Linked DNA regions of Homo sapiens: regions 1, 2 and 3 are each linked to region 4. Evidence: promoter capture Hi-C in 16 types of primary human blood cells and fetal thymus (Javierre and others, 2016). All regions are on one chromosome and are shown on one strand. Each heading gives the region's core, a stretch centred on a gene start or on the middle of the fragment in contact. The rest is flanking DNA. Distances are from core to core; before and after follow the strand shown.

The links. Contacts are between HindIII fragments. The CHiCAGO score rates a contact against its expected background, and 5 or more counts as called.
Region 1: a contact is called between a fragment that was not itself captured here and the fragment with the promoter of ZNF234 in region 4, in 9 of 17 cell types (total CD8 T cells, naive CD4 T cells, naive CD8 T cells and 6 more). The highest score is 8.3, in total CD8 T cells.
Region 2: a fragment that was not itself captured here is called in contact with the fragment with the promoter of ZNF234 in region 4 in 4 of 17 cell types (fetal thymus, naive CD4 T cells, activated CD4 T cells and 1 more); the score reaches 6.3 in fetal thymus.
Region 3: a contact is called between a fragment that was not itself captured here and the fragment with the promoter of ZNF234 in region 4, in 3 of 17 cell types (naive CD8 T cells, fetal thymus and naive B cells). The highest score is 5.6, in naive CD8 T cells.

Annotation. Positions count from the first base shown.
Region 1 is chr19:44,216,357-44,219,056 of GRCh38, reverse strand. ZNF227 (zinc finger protein 227) reads right to left here. Exons shown (of 6, transcript NM_182490.3): 3 at 1,205-1,266. The coding sequence starts at 1,264. Among named protein-coding and RNA genes, the nearest start is that of ZNF227, 5.2 kb to the right of the region's middle. The HindIII fragment of the contact is 758 bases long and covers 1,009-1,766 here.
Region 2 is chr19:44,041,244-44,044,007 of GRCh38, reverse strand. No RefSeq gene overlaps it. Among named protein-coding and RNA genes, the nearest start is that of ZNF223, 9.4 kb to the left of the region's middle. The HindIII fragment of the contact is 1,557 bases long and covers 662-2,218 here.
Region 3 is chr19:44,235,057-44,237,777 of GRCh38, reverse strand. It overlaps ZNF227 (zinc finger protein 227), which reads right to left. Exons shown (of 6, transcript NM_182490.3): 6 at 510-2,721. The coding sequence ends at 948. Among named protein-coding and RNA genes, the nearest start is that of ZNF233, 23 kb to the left of the region's middle. The HindIII fragment of the contact is 792 bases long and covers 956-1,747 here.
Region 4 is chr19:44,140,120-44,143,027 of GRCh38, reverse strand. It overlaps ZNF234 (zinc finger protein 234), which reads right to left and starts at 1,474. Exons shown (of 6, transcript NM_006630.3): 1 at 1,295-1,474; 2 at 661-714. RefSeq lists enhancers at 987-1,036, 702-1,292, 1,047-1,446. The HindIII fragment of the contact is 9,485 bases long and covers 1-2,908 here.

The sequences.
Region 1 (2,700 bases), core at 138-2,637, 76 kb before region 4:
AATTAGCCAGGCGTGCTGGTACATGCCTGTAATCCCAGCTACTTGGGAGGCTGAGGCAGGAGAATCGCTTGAACCTGGGAGGCAGAGGTTGCAGTGAGCTAAGAACATGCCATTGCACTCCGGCCTGGGTGACAAGAATTAAACTCTGTCTCAAAAGAATAAAAAGGTAACATCAGGTACTTCTATCATATGTGCTCATCTCTGTGAATGGAAAACTCTTTTGTTCTGTCTGCCTTTACATGAAAATAGAATGCCAGATATTCCTAATAGTTGGAAGCTTCAGTGTCCAATGAGTCAGCTACCTGGGAAATTTGGGGCAGTTATAAAATGTTCCCATAACCTGTTTCTTCATATTTAAAATGCAAATAAATCATCTCCATCCTCACATCTGAAAAATGCAATGACAGATGGAAAGGGCTAGCAAGACATCTAAGTACTACTAGACCTTACGTACATGTAGTTACTTTGATGAAATAAATTCATACAAGAAATAAATGAGTGATAAAAACATAAACGGGAAAAATATATAGCTCTTCTTCTCTGAAAGCATCTAATAAAATTACACCATGTCATTCTTTAGATGTTCTGTTTACAAAACACCTGAGGGAACTGACATGAAACTGAGACATAAACCTCTTCAATGCAGAGTTCCTAAAACTTTAAGGACAAATAATATTGAATTCCACCAGAATTTCTTTTGAAGGAATTGTTTTTATATGTAGGGAAAAAAGTCACTGGATTTACTTTAAAGTAGTAAAATTCTTAAAATTTCTGAATTTCTGAAAGGCTAAATAAGAAATAGTTTTTGTTGTCTTTTAAGGGCACTGCAATTCAATGGCATATGATGTACTCACTTACAATGCAGGTGATGCAATTAAGTGGAGAATGCACAATTGAAAATTTCATCTACTCAAGTATTGCAAAATGTGTATGAAAAAGGAACATGGGAAAATGAAAAAAGCTAGTTCATAAGCAGGGTAGTAGCATAGATTATTTCTGATTAAAGCTTCTATTATTTTTTCAAACACTGTTTTGTAAAATAGTAAAGGTGATAAACTAAAACAAAAAAACACATACATGTCAGCATACCACATGTCCTGAATATCTGTTTCCCACTAACCTTTCCAAGAAAGAGAAAAAATAAATCTGTTATCTTTGAGAAATAAATCACATTTTAAAAGACAGCAAGGAATCCTTTACGTACCTGAAACTTGGTCATTTTCTCCTGCTTCTTCTGGGGAAGGTCATAGTTCTGAGATGGCATAACTGGGGGAGACCAAAGACGCCATGAGACACAAGCCTGCTGTTAGCCCATGTGTACATATGAGGAAATTAGAGAAATAGCCCTACATTCAGACAGGTATAGCCACATACAGCTTGGTAAGCAGAACATGGACTGTATTCCAGCTACTAAATGGCATGATAGTTCAGTGCCATTGGGCAGTGAACAGTCTGCACAAGTGCAGCATCCTTGCTACAAGGATTTCTGATGGCAGAGACAGCAGGAAACGAGAGGCAATGTAACAACATATGAGGGCTCTCAAGTCAAGTATCTGGGTTTAATTCCTAGAAATGATACTTACCAGCTGTGTAACCTTGGGGATATTAAAAACCCTCTCTGTGCCTCACTTCTGTTATGTGTACAATGAGGATATGGTAAGAATCATAAATCGTACCTCCCTCATAGGGTTTTTCCAAGGATTAAATAAGTAGATGGAGAGTTCTAAGAACCAGGAGTCCCTTTCTCTTATAGTTACAAAAAAGCTTCTTCATGGCTTCTTGCTGTTTAGCCAGGCCTGGCACAGTGGCTCATGCTTGTAATCCCAGCACTTTAGGAGGCCAAGGAGGGAGGATCACATAAGGTCAGAAGTTTGAGACCAGCCTGGCCAACACGGCAAAACCTCATCTCTACCAAAAATAAAAAAAATCAGCCAGGCGTGGTGGTGCGGGTCTGTAATCCCAGCTACTTGGGAGGCTGAGGCATGAGAATTGCTAGAACCTGGAAGGTGGAGGTTATAGTGAGCCAAGATCACGCCAATGAACTCCAACCTGGATGACACAGTGAGACTCTGTCTCAAAAAAAAAAAAAAAAAAAAAACAAGCAGATGATACTTTGCATCACACACTTGCCTTGCAAATATTGCTCTCCTATGAAAGTCACCTTTAATTTCTGAAAAGCCGAAATCTGACTTAAGGTTTCTTTTTAGTAATTTGTTGCCCAGCTAGTAATATTTTACTGACACTGTTATCAGTTTTCTAAAACGTATCATTCTGGGTCAATTTACTTCATGAAGCCTGGAAACGATCATTGGTACATCTCTTTTATTTTATGTGCACAGAGAAAAACACACAGCAAAGAGAAAGATAAAGCACAAACGAAAAATCAAGAAACATGAAAGATAAATTGAGAGGCTTCCGTATTTGTCTAACAGGAATGGGAGAAGAGAAGGCAGGATGGAGGGAATGACTGAGAGGTTTTAATTTCAAGATGCAATTGCTGAGAATTTCACACAATTGGTAAAAGATACAAGTTCGCATATAGAAATTCTAAACAGTATAAATAAAAATAAACATACCCTAAACAAATCACAATAAAACTCAGAAATGCAAAAGACTAAACGAACATAAAGAACTGGAAACAACAACCTTAAAGCTCCTAGAAAGAAAATATAGTTGACCTAAAAGAAATAACAATTAGAT
Region 2 (2,764 bases), core at 191-2,690, 99 kb after region 4:
CTAAAACAACTTTGCAAAAGAAGAATAAAGTGGGAGGAATCACTCTAATAATGTCAAGAGTTATTATATATCTACATTAACCAAGGCAGAGTAATATTCTCTGAGTATAGACACACGGATCAGTGGAACACAATAGATAACCCAGAAATGACCCTAACCAACTATAACAAAATGATTTGTGCCAAAATGCTAAAGCAAATAAATAGAAATGGGACAGTGTTTTCATCAAAGACTGCTGGGAAAACTGAACATCCATGTGCATAAAAGAAAAAGAATCTGAGACTTTATTTCAAAATTAAGTCAAATTGGATCATAGATTTAAATGTGAAATATCAATGTAAAATCATAAAATTTTAAGAAGACAGTGTAGGAAAACTGTCAGTACCTAGAGCTTTGTCAGTGTTTGCAGATCTCATATCTGACGAAAAATTTATATCTACAATATATAAACAACTCTCACAACTCAACCATAAAATAGTCTAAGAAGAAAAGGAGCAAAAAACACAAAGACCCAATTCACTTAAGAAGAGTTATGGATGGTATTTGAACACAGAAACAGATACTCACAGCATTAAATAAAATACACTAAGATTAATGATAGGTGATGAGCTAAAAAGAAAATAGCAAAAAAAAAAAAATCTCATGATGTTTTTAAAAAGCTTACAAATTTGTGGTGGGCCACATTCAAAGCCGTCCTGGGCTGCATGTGTGCCACTGGCTGGACAAGTTGAGCTAAAGGGTGTTATGCTGAGTAAAAAGACAATCTGAAAAAGTACATAATACATGATTCCATCTATATGTCATTCCCAAAATGACAAAATGTAGAGATGGACATCAGATGAGTAGTTGCTAGGGGTAATGAATGGTAGGGACACAAGTTGGGTTGACTATAAAGGGATACTTCAAGAGAGATCTTTGTGGTGATGGAATAGTTCTTTCTGTATCATCACTGCCTTGGTGATTCCATTAAATCTACATGAAATACGACAAATAAAAGTGGTATACACACACATTGTACCAATGTTGAATTCCTGGTTTTGATATTTTACTAAAATTATGTAAAATGTAAAATGTAATTAAGAATGTAGATGGAAGACTCGGGGTTTCTCTGTACTTCCCTTGCAATTTCCTGTGAATTTCAAATTATTTCACTACAAAAAGATAACACAACTGATTATTATCAATCCCTGCTTTTCTAAGGAATGTCTTTTTTTTTTTTTTTTTTTTTTTTTTAAGACAGAGTCTCGCTCTGCCGCTCAGGCTGGAGTGCAATGGCGCCATCTCAGCTCATAGCAACCTCCACCTCCCCTTGCTATTCTCATGATAGTGAGTGAGTTCTCATGAAATCTGGTTGTTTGGAAGTGTGTGGCATTTCCCCTTTGCTCTCTCTTTTCTGTTCTAATGTTTCTTCTCCTTCACCTTCCACCATGATTGTAAGTTTCCTGAGGCCTCCCAGTCATACTTCCTGTCAATCCTTGGAACTGTGAGTCAATTAAATCTCTTTTCTTTATAAATTACCCAGTCTCGGGTAGTACTTTATAGCAGTGGGAAAACAGACTAATACAGCTTATTACCCAATTTCACTCCTAAGTATACACCAAGAGAAATGAAAGCTAAGAGATGTGATTCAGAAGAGAGCTCATGTTGTATGATTTCATTTACATGAAATATTCAGAATGGGCAAATCTGTAGAAACAGAAAGTAGAATAATGGTTGCCAGGAGCTAGTGGAGAAAGGATGAGGATTGGGAGTGACTGCCAATGGATAGGGGATTTCTTTCTGGGCCGATTTAAAAAACCTGAAATTAGAGAGTAGTGACAGTTGCACAACTTTGGGAATTTACTAAAAAACCACTAAAGGATATATTTTAAAGTGATGCATTTTATGATATTTGAATCATTACTCAAGTTTAAGCAAGGTTGGACTGGTTGGCCTAATAGTATTTTGGGGCCTGTGTAACCAAGCACCTTAGCTTCAAACTACATTTTAAAGACCGTCTTTTCTTTCCCACTTCTCCCCAGTCTCAAGACGTAGCTTTGAGACAAACTACAGATGTGTTTTCTTTCGTGTTGAAATACAGCCTCCAAATCTGCTTTAAAACTCCACTCCCTTCTTTTTCCCACCTTATGCTTCCATGCCCTATACACATTTATTTACCAGGATGCTTGTTAAGCTCACACCGCGCTCACTTATCTGCTCACATATTTCCTTAGAAGCTTCAGGGGAAGAATACTGATGAGGATCAGGCAGCTCTGGAATTCTCTCCTCCTGGCTACAGATGAACTGCAAGATTGACAGTCCATTAATTTATAACCTGATTGAGCCCATGATCGTGCTGGCCCCTTCACCAGATGCAACAATAATTCAAGATCATCAGAGCGAGACATGCCATCAGGTACCTCCTAAACCCCCTTACCTCTCTGCATTCCAAGCCCACTTCTTAAACTGTGGCCCTCTCTCCAGAAATTGAAAAGTGGCAACTTTTGGAAAAGATTCCAATCACTCTTTCCCTTGCTAGCAACAAGTAATAAAATTCACTCTTTTTATCACACTTTCCTGTTGTTATTTTGGCTTTTTTCTATAAGAGATAAGCAGCTGGACCTTCTTTCACTTATACCAATAGCCCACTCACCTATCATGAATTGGTATATTCCCTTCCCTCACAACACATTGAAAATACTTCTACCATTACACTCACCACAATGCCCAGAGTTAATGCTTCACAGATATGTCTACTCACTGCCCTGTATAACCTGACAGCAAT
Region 3 (2,721 bases), core at 102-2,601, 95 kb before region 4:
ATCCAAGTATTTCTATGTTTGCTACTAAAACAATGATGCACCGACTATCCTCTTTTCTCTTTCTCTTGCTCTCTCTCTCTCTTTCTTCTTTATTTATTTGAGATGGAGTCTCGCTCTGTCACCAGGCTGGAGTGCAGTGGCGCAATCTTGGCTCACTGCGAACTCCACCTCCTGGGTTCAAGCGATTCTCCTGCCTCCGCCTCCCGAGTAGCTAGGACTACAGGCACGTGCCACCATGCCTGGCCAATTTTTTGTATTTTTAGTAGAGATGGGGTTTCACCATATTAGCCAGGATGTTCTCAATCTTCTGACCTTGTGATCCGCCCACCTTGGCCTCCCAAAGTGCTGGGATTACAGGCGTGAGCCACCGTGCCCGGCCATACTACTATCCTTTAATACACCTCTACAGCAGATATAAATTTACTTCTGAAGATCAAAGATTCATCTCTGGGGATATATTCCTTAATTTTACACCTATATACCATATAAAAGAATCATGAGTCCTTAGCTACAGAAAATTTTTAGTAATTTTATTCATTTTTCATAGCTTTACAGCTTTTATGAAAATAATGATCACTGTAAGTATAAAATGAAAATTAAAGAAAAGGGATAATAACCCAAAACTCTCCCTGGCCAAAAAACCAGTTAGCATATGGCAAATATCCTTCCACACATTATCTTCAGGCATATATTCACAATGAAAGGTGATCATTTATATTAACTAGATCTTACCAAGAGAGCCACCAGCCCTATTTCTCCCCTAAATACGAGTTCTATTCCTGTTCATGGTTCTGTGTTATCATCTTGATGGATTTGTTAGAAAGATTCCAAGTGTGAACAAACCCCCTTCCACTCTCAGTAGTTTTACAGGGTTTACCACCAGCATGGACTAGCCAAAAACTTGAAGATGTGCATTCAGACAAAAGTTGGTAACACATTTCTCATTTCTAAAGCTTTTTACCAGTATGGACTTTCTGATGATATGTAAGACGTGAACGGTGACGGAAGTCCTTATCACATATGTCACATTTGTATGGTTTTTCTCCAGTGTGGACTCTCTGATGGGCTTCAAGACGTGCACTCTGACTGAAGCCTTTACCACACTCTTCACATTTAAAGAGTTTTTCCCTGGTGTGAACACCCAGGTGGACTCGAAGATTTGAGGGGAGACTGAAGGCCTTACCACACTCCTCACATATATGGGGTTTCTCTCCCGTGTGGACCCTCTGATGATGGCGAAGATTCAAGCTCCTACCAAAGCCTTTCCCACACTCTTCACATTTGTAAGGTTTTTCTCCAGTGTGGCCTCTCTGATGGTATATAAACTGCGAACTGTATCTAAAGCCCTTTCCACACACATCACATTTGTATGGCTTTTCCCCCGTGTGGACTCTCTGATGGGATTGAAGACCAGAGGACTGACTGAAGCCCTTACCACAGACACCACATTTGTATGGCTTCTCTCCAGTATGGACTCTCTGATGTACCCGAAAATCTATGGCCTGACTGAAGCTCTTATCACACTGCTCACATTTATAGGGTTTTTCTCCTGAGTGAACTCTTTGATGTGCATGAAGATTTGATCTCCAACTGAAGCCCTTCCCACATTCCTCACATTTATATGGTTTTTCTCCAGTGTGAATTACTTGGTGTAGTTTAAGATTTGAACTATAACTGAAGTCCTTACCACACACATCACATCTATATGGTTTCTCTCCAGTGTGGACTCGCTGATGGGTTTGAAGCTTTGAGGACTGACTGAAGCCCTTCCCACACGTTTCACACTTGAATCGTTTCTCCCCAGTGTGGACATTCTGATGGACTTGAAGATTTGAAGCCTGACTGAAGCCCTTACCACACTCCTTACATTTATAGGGTTTCTCTCCCGTGTGAACTCTGAAATGAATATGCAGATCTGTATTACGGGTAAAGCCTTTCCCACACGCCTCACACTTGTATGGCTTCTCTCCTGTGTGGACTCTCCGATGGCATATTAATGGTGAATTGTGGCTGAAGCCCTTACCACACACATCACACTTGTAGGGTTTCTCTCCAGTGTGGACTCTCTGATGGATGTGAAAATGTGCAGCCTGAGTGAAGCCCTTACCACATTCCTCACATTTATAGGGCTTCTCACCCCTGTGGACCCTCTGGTGAACACGGAGATTAACACTCCAACCGAAGCCCTTACCACACTCTTCGCATTTGTATGGTTTTTCTTCAGTGTGGACTCTCTGATGGCACTGAAAATTTGAACTTTGACTAAAGCATTTACCACATTCCTCGCATTTATAGGGTTTCTCTCCAGTATGAGTTCTGTAATGAATGATAAGACCCGTGCTGCTACTGAATCCCTTGCCGCAACTGTCGCATCTATAAGACTTCTCTCCTGTATGATTAGATTGATAAGAATGAAAAGAGCTCTTATTGAAGCAATCACCAGATTCATGACATCTATTGAGTTTCTCTCCTGGGTGAATTCTCTGATGAGTTCGCAGATGTGAGCTTTGACTGAAGCATTTTTCTCCTGTATGAACATTCGGATGAAGGGGAAGCCTTGGGCTATAACTGAAGCCCCTTCCACACTCACCACATGGATGGGGTTTCTCTCCTAAGGGTAATTTCTGATTGGAGCCATCACTAATGATTTTGCCATATTCATTACCTTTGCAGGGTTTTGGTTCTGTGTCAGTTTTAATATGCTCATGAAATGGTGATTTC
Region 4 (2,908 bases), core at 225-2,724:
GGTCACTAGTTTATTATCTCTTTATCTGGAAATTTCCATGGATAAGCAGATAAATAGAAAAACATTGAGAAATGTATAATAAAAATTTTGTAAAACATTTATAAGTAATATAAACATGGAACCACTAAAACAAAATGCATTAGAAATTTAACCATTACTATCTTTACATCCTGATTTCATAGGTAATTACAATTTTTGTATCTTCGTATTTCTGTAATTTCTGAATGCTTCACAGTGATACGGTTCTATTAGAATGTGAAATATTTGTAATAAATGAAACAAAATAGTTGACAGTTTTTAAAAACTGAGAAAACTCCAAGGCAATTAGCCTTGCTCTTAAGGTCCTTTAATCAAGTTCTAACTTACTTTCCCCACCTGAGTACAGCTAGTTCCTCTGCCTCAATGAGAATATATCCAAGAGATGATCAACTCGGGCTCTGACCCTGAATGCCTAGGTTCCAACCCAAGTTTCACCTCTTACTACTTGGATGACCAGTACCTCTCCACAGAGTCACGTTGCGGCTTAAACGTATCTAATTGTATAAATCCCCTAGAATTGAAGTTAGCAATTAAGGCTTAATTATTATAAATGCCCATGCCCTATTACACATGCTACAAAGATACAGTCTCTGTAAAAGAAAAATGACAAGTCACACTCACGTGGAGCTTTGCTTTCAGTAGCCAAGAAGTCAGTCCGCGCAGTCCTTTTTCAGGCTGGGGAAGGAGAAAGCTGTGAAACATCCTGACTGGGTCGCTGTCCCTGAGAAAAGTTAAATGCTCCCCTCCCTTCGTGGAAGTGGACGCAACCCTCGCCTGCCTAAAAAGAGGTCAGAAGGCGTCCGGGATCGTCCAGCGTCCTGCAGGGATCAGAGATAAGGGCTGAGGCCCCTGCTGCTGGAGCTCTGACCCCACCGGGGGACCTAACAGGTTTCGTGGGAAAGTAACAAGAAACCACCACTCACCAAGTGACAGGGACTGTTTGTGTTGTGTAACCTATTCCAGTTACCAAAACGATTCTACAAAGATGGTCCTAACGTCCCCATTTTAAAGAACAGCAAGGAGAGGCCCAGGGAGATTAACACGCCAACCTTGCACTGTAAAAAAGTGACTGCGCGCCTGGAGTGCAGGGAGGCGGAGTGGGCGAGCTCAGAGCCCCGGAAACCCTCAAACCAGGCGAGACGCGACCCAACCAAGTCCCAATGCCCCCCGCCTCCCGCCGCGGGACACGAGGGGAGCCCCAGCCCAAGAAGGCTCCGCTGACACAACAAAAGCCGCCGCCCTCGCCCCACCAAACCTCTGCTCTCCCACGAGGCTTCTTTTCCCATAACCGGACCACCAGGTCCCAGCGAGCCCCAATCTTAAGTCCCTGACATTAGGAGGGGCCCGCGAGTCGCGGAACTGGAAGAAACTACCGTGGAATGTGCCGTGACAATCGCCCCCTCTTCCCTGGAGCGGAAGTGCCCGCGACTCCACTGATTGGCGGGACTACATTTCCCAGAATTCCCCGGATCCCCCTGCGTGGGTCAAATGGACCACGACTCCACTGAGCGTTTGGATTACACTCAGAATGCTGAGGGAAAAACGTTCAGAATCTCACCCTTCAGGGAAAAGCGATGGGACTCCGCGGTGCTCCTTGCCTACGATTCCCGCACTGCCCATGGGGAACGAATCCTATATCGCTGAGCGCTTGGTAGGGAATGTGGACTGTGACCCTGAGAGTCGTCCTTCCCTCTGCCTGAGTCCTTGAGCGAAAATATTGAATAGACAGCAATTCCTGAAGTCTAAACGCCTCCCAGGACTACGGAGGATTATTGGAAAGAGAACAAGCGAGGAGATACAATCTTCAAGGACTAAATGGGGAATGACTTTTTAGGGGTCAGTAGATGATTGATGATTGATTACTATAAACTGATAATATGAGGCCAAAACTAAAAGTTGGAAGAGTGAGCAAGTACAATGGTTTGGGAGAGGCAATGAAGAACAAAGAAGGTGCCAGCCCCTACTCCAGACGCTGTGGTACCACTGGTTTGGCAGGAAAAACAATCATCATTTGAGAGGGCCAGTGGGGAAGCCCTGTCCTCATGGAAAAGCTATCTTCTTTCGTTTACACTTTTCATGGTATTATGTCTACTGAAGAGGTAAAAACACCAAATTTCAGAGAAGCTCTTAAATTGCCCAATACTTCAAAGCAAGTATAACTGGTGAAGCGCTTGGCATTGATGTCAGACACCCAATGCCTATGATTTATTTAATGCAGTAGCATTAAGGAGGATCCTATACGTGAAGGAACATATTTTATTTTCTTCCTTTATATTTTTTGGTTAAAATATCGTCATTATAGTTAGCAATTTGGAATCTGGCTTACATTGGTTGATACAAATAAATAATAGAATAAAGCAAAATCAGAAAAAAACCCATCTAAAATCTTTCTTCAAGATAACCAGGGGCTGGGTGCGGTGGCTCACGCCTGTAATCCCAGCACTTTGGGAAGGCCAAGGCGGGCGGACCATGAGGTCAAGAGTTCGAGACCAGCCAGGAGAACATGGTGAAAACCCATATCTACTAAGAATACAAAAATTAGCCGGGCATGGTGGTGCGTGCCTGTAATTCCAGCTACTCGGGAGACTGAGGTAGGAGAATCGCTTGAACCTGAGAGGCAGAGGTTGCAGTGAGCCGAGATCATGCCACTGCACTCCAGCCTGGGCGACAGAGCAAGACTCTGTCACGGAAAAAAAAAAAAAAAAAAAGATAACCAGATTTTTTTCTCCCCATAAACATACATTGGCCTATTGATATGGTTTAGATCTGTGTCCCCACCCAAATCTCATGTTGAAATGTAATCCCCAGTGTTGGAGTTGGGGCCTGGTGGGAGGCGATTGGATCACCGGGGAGGTTTCTAATGGTTTAG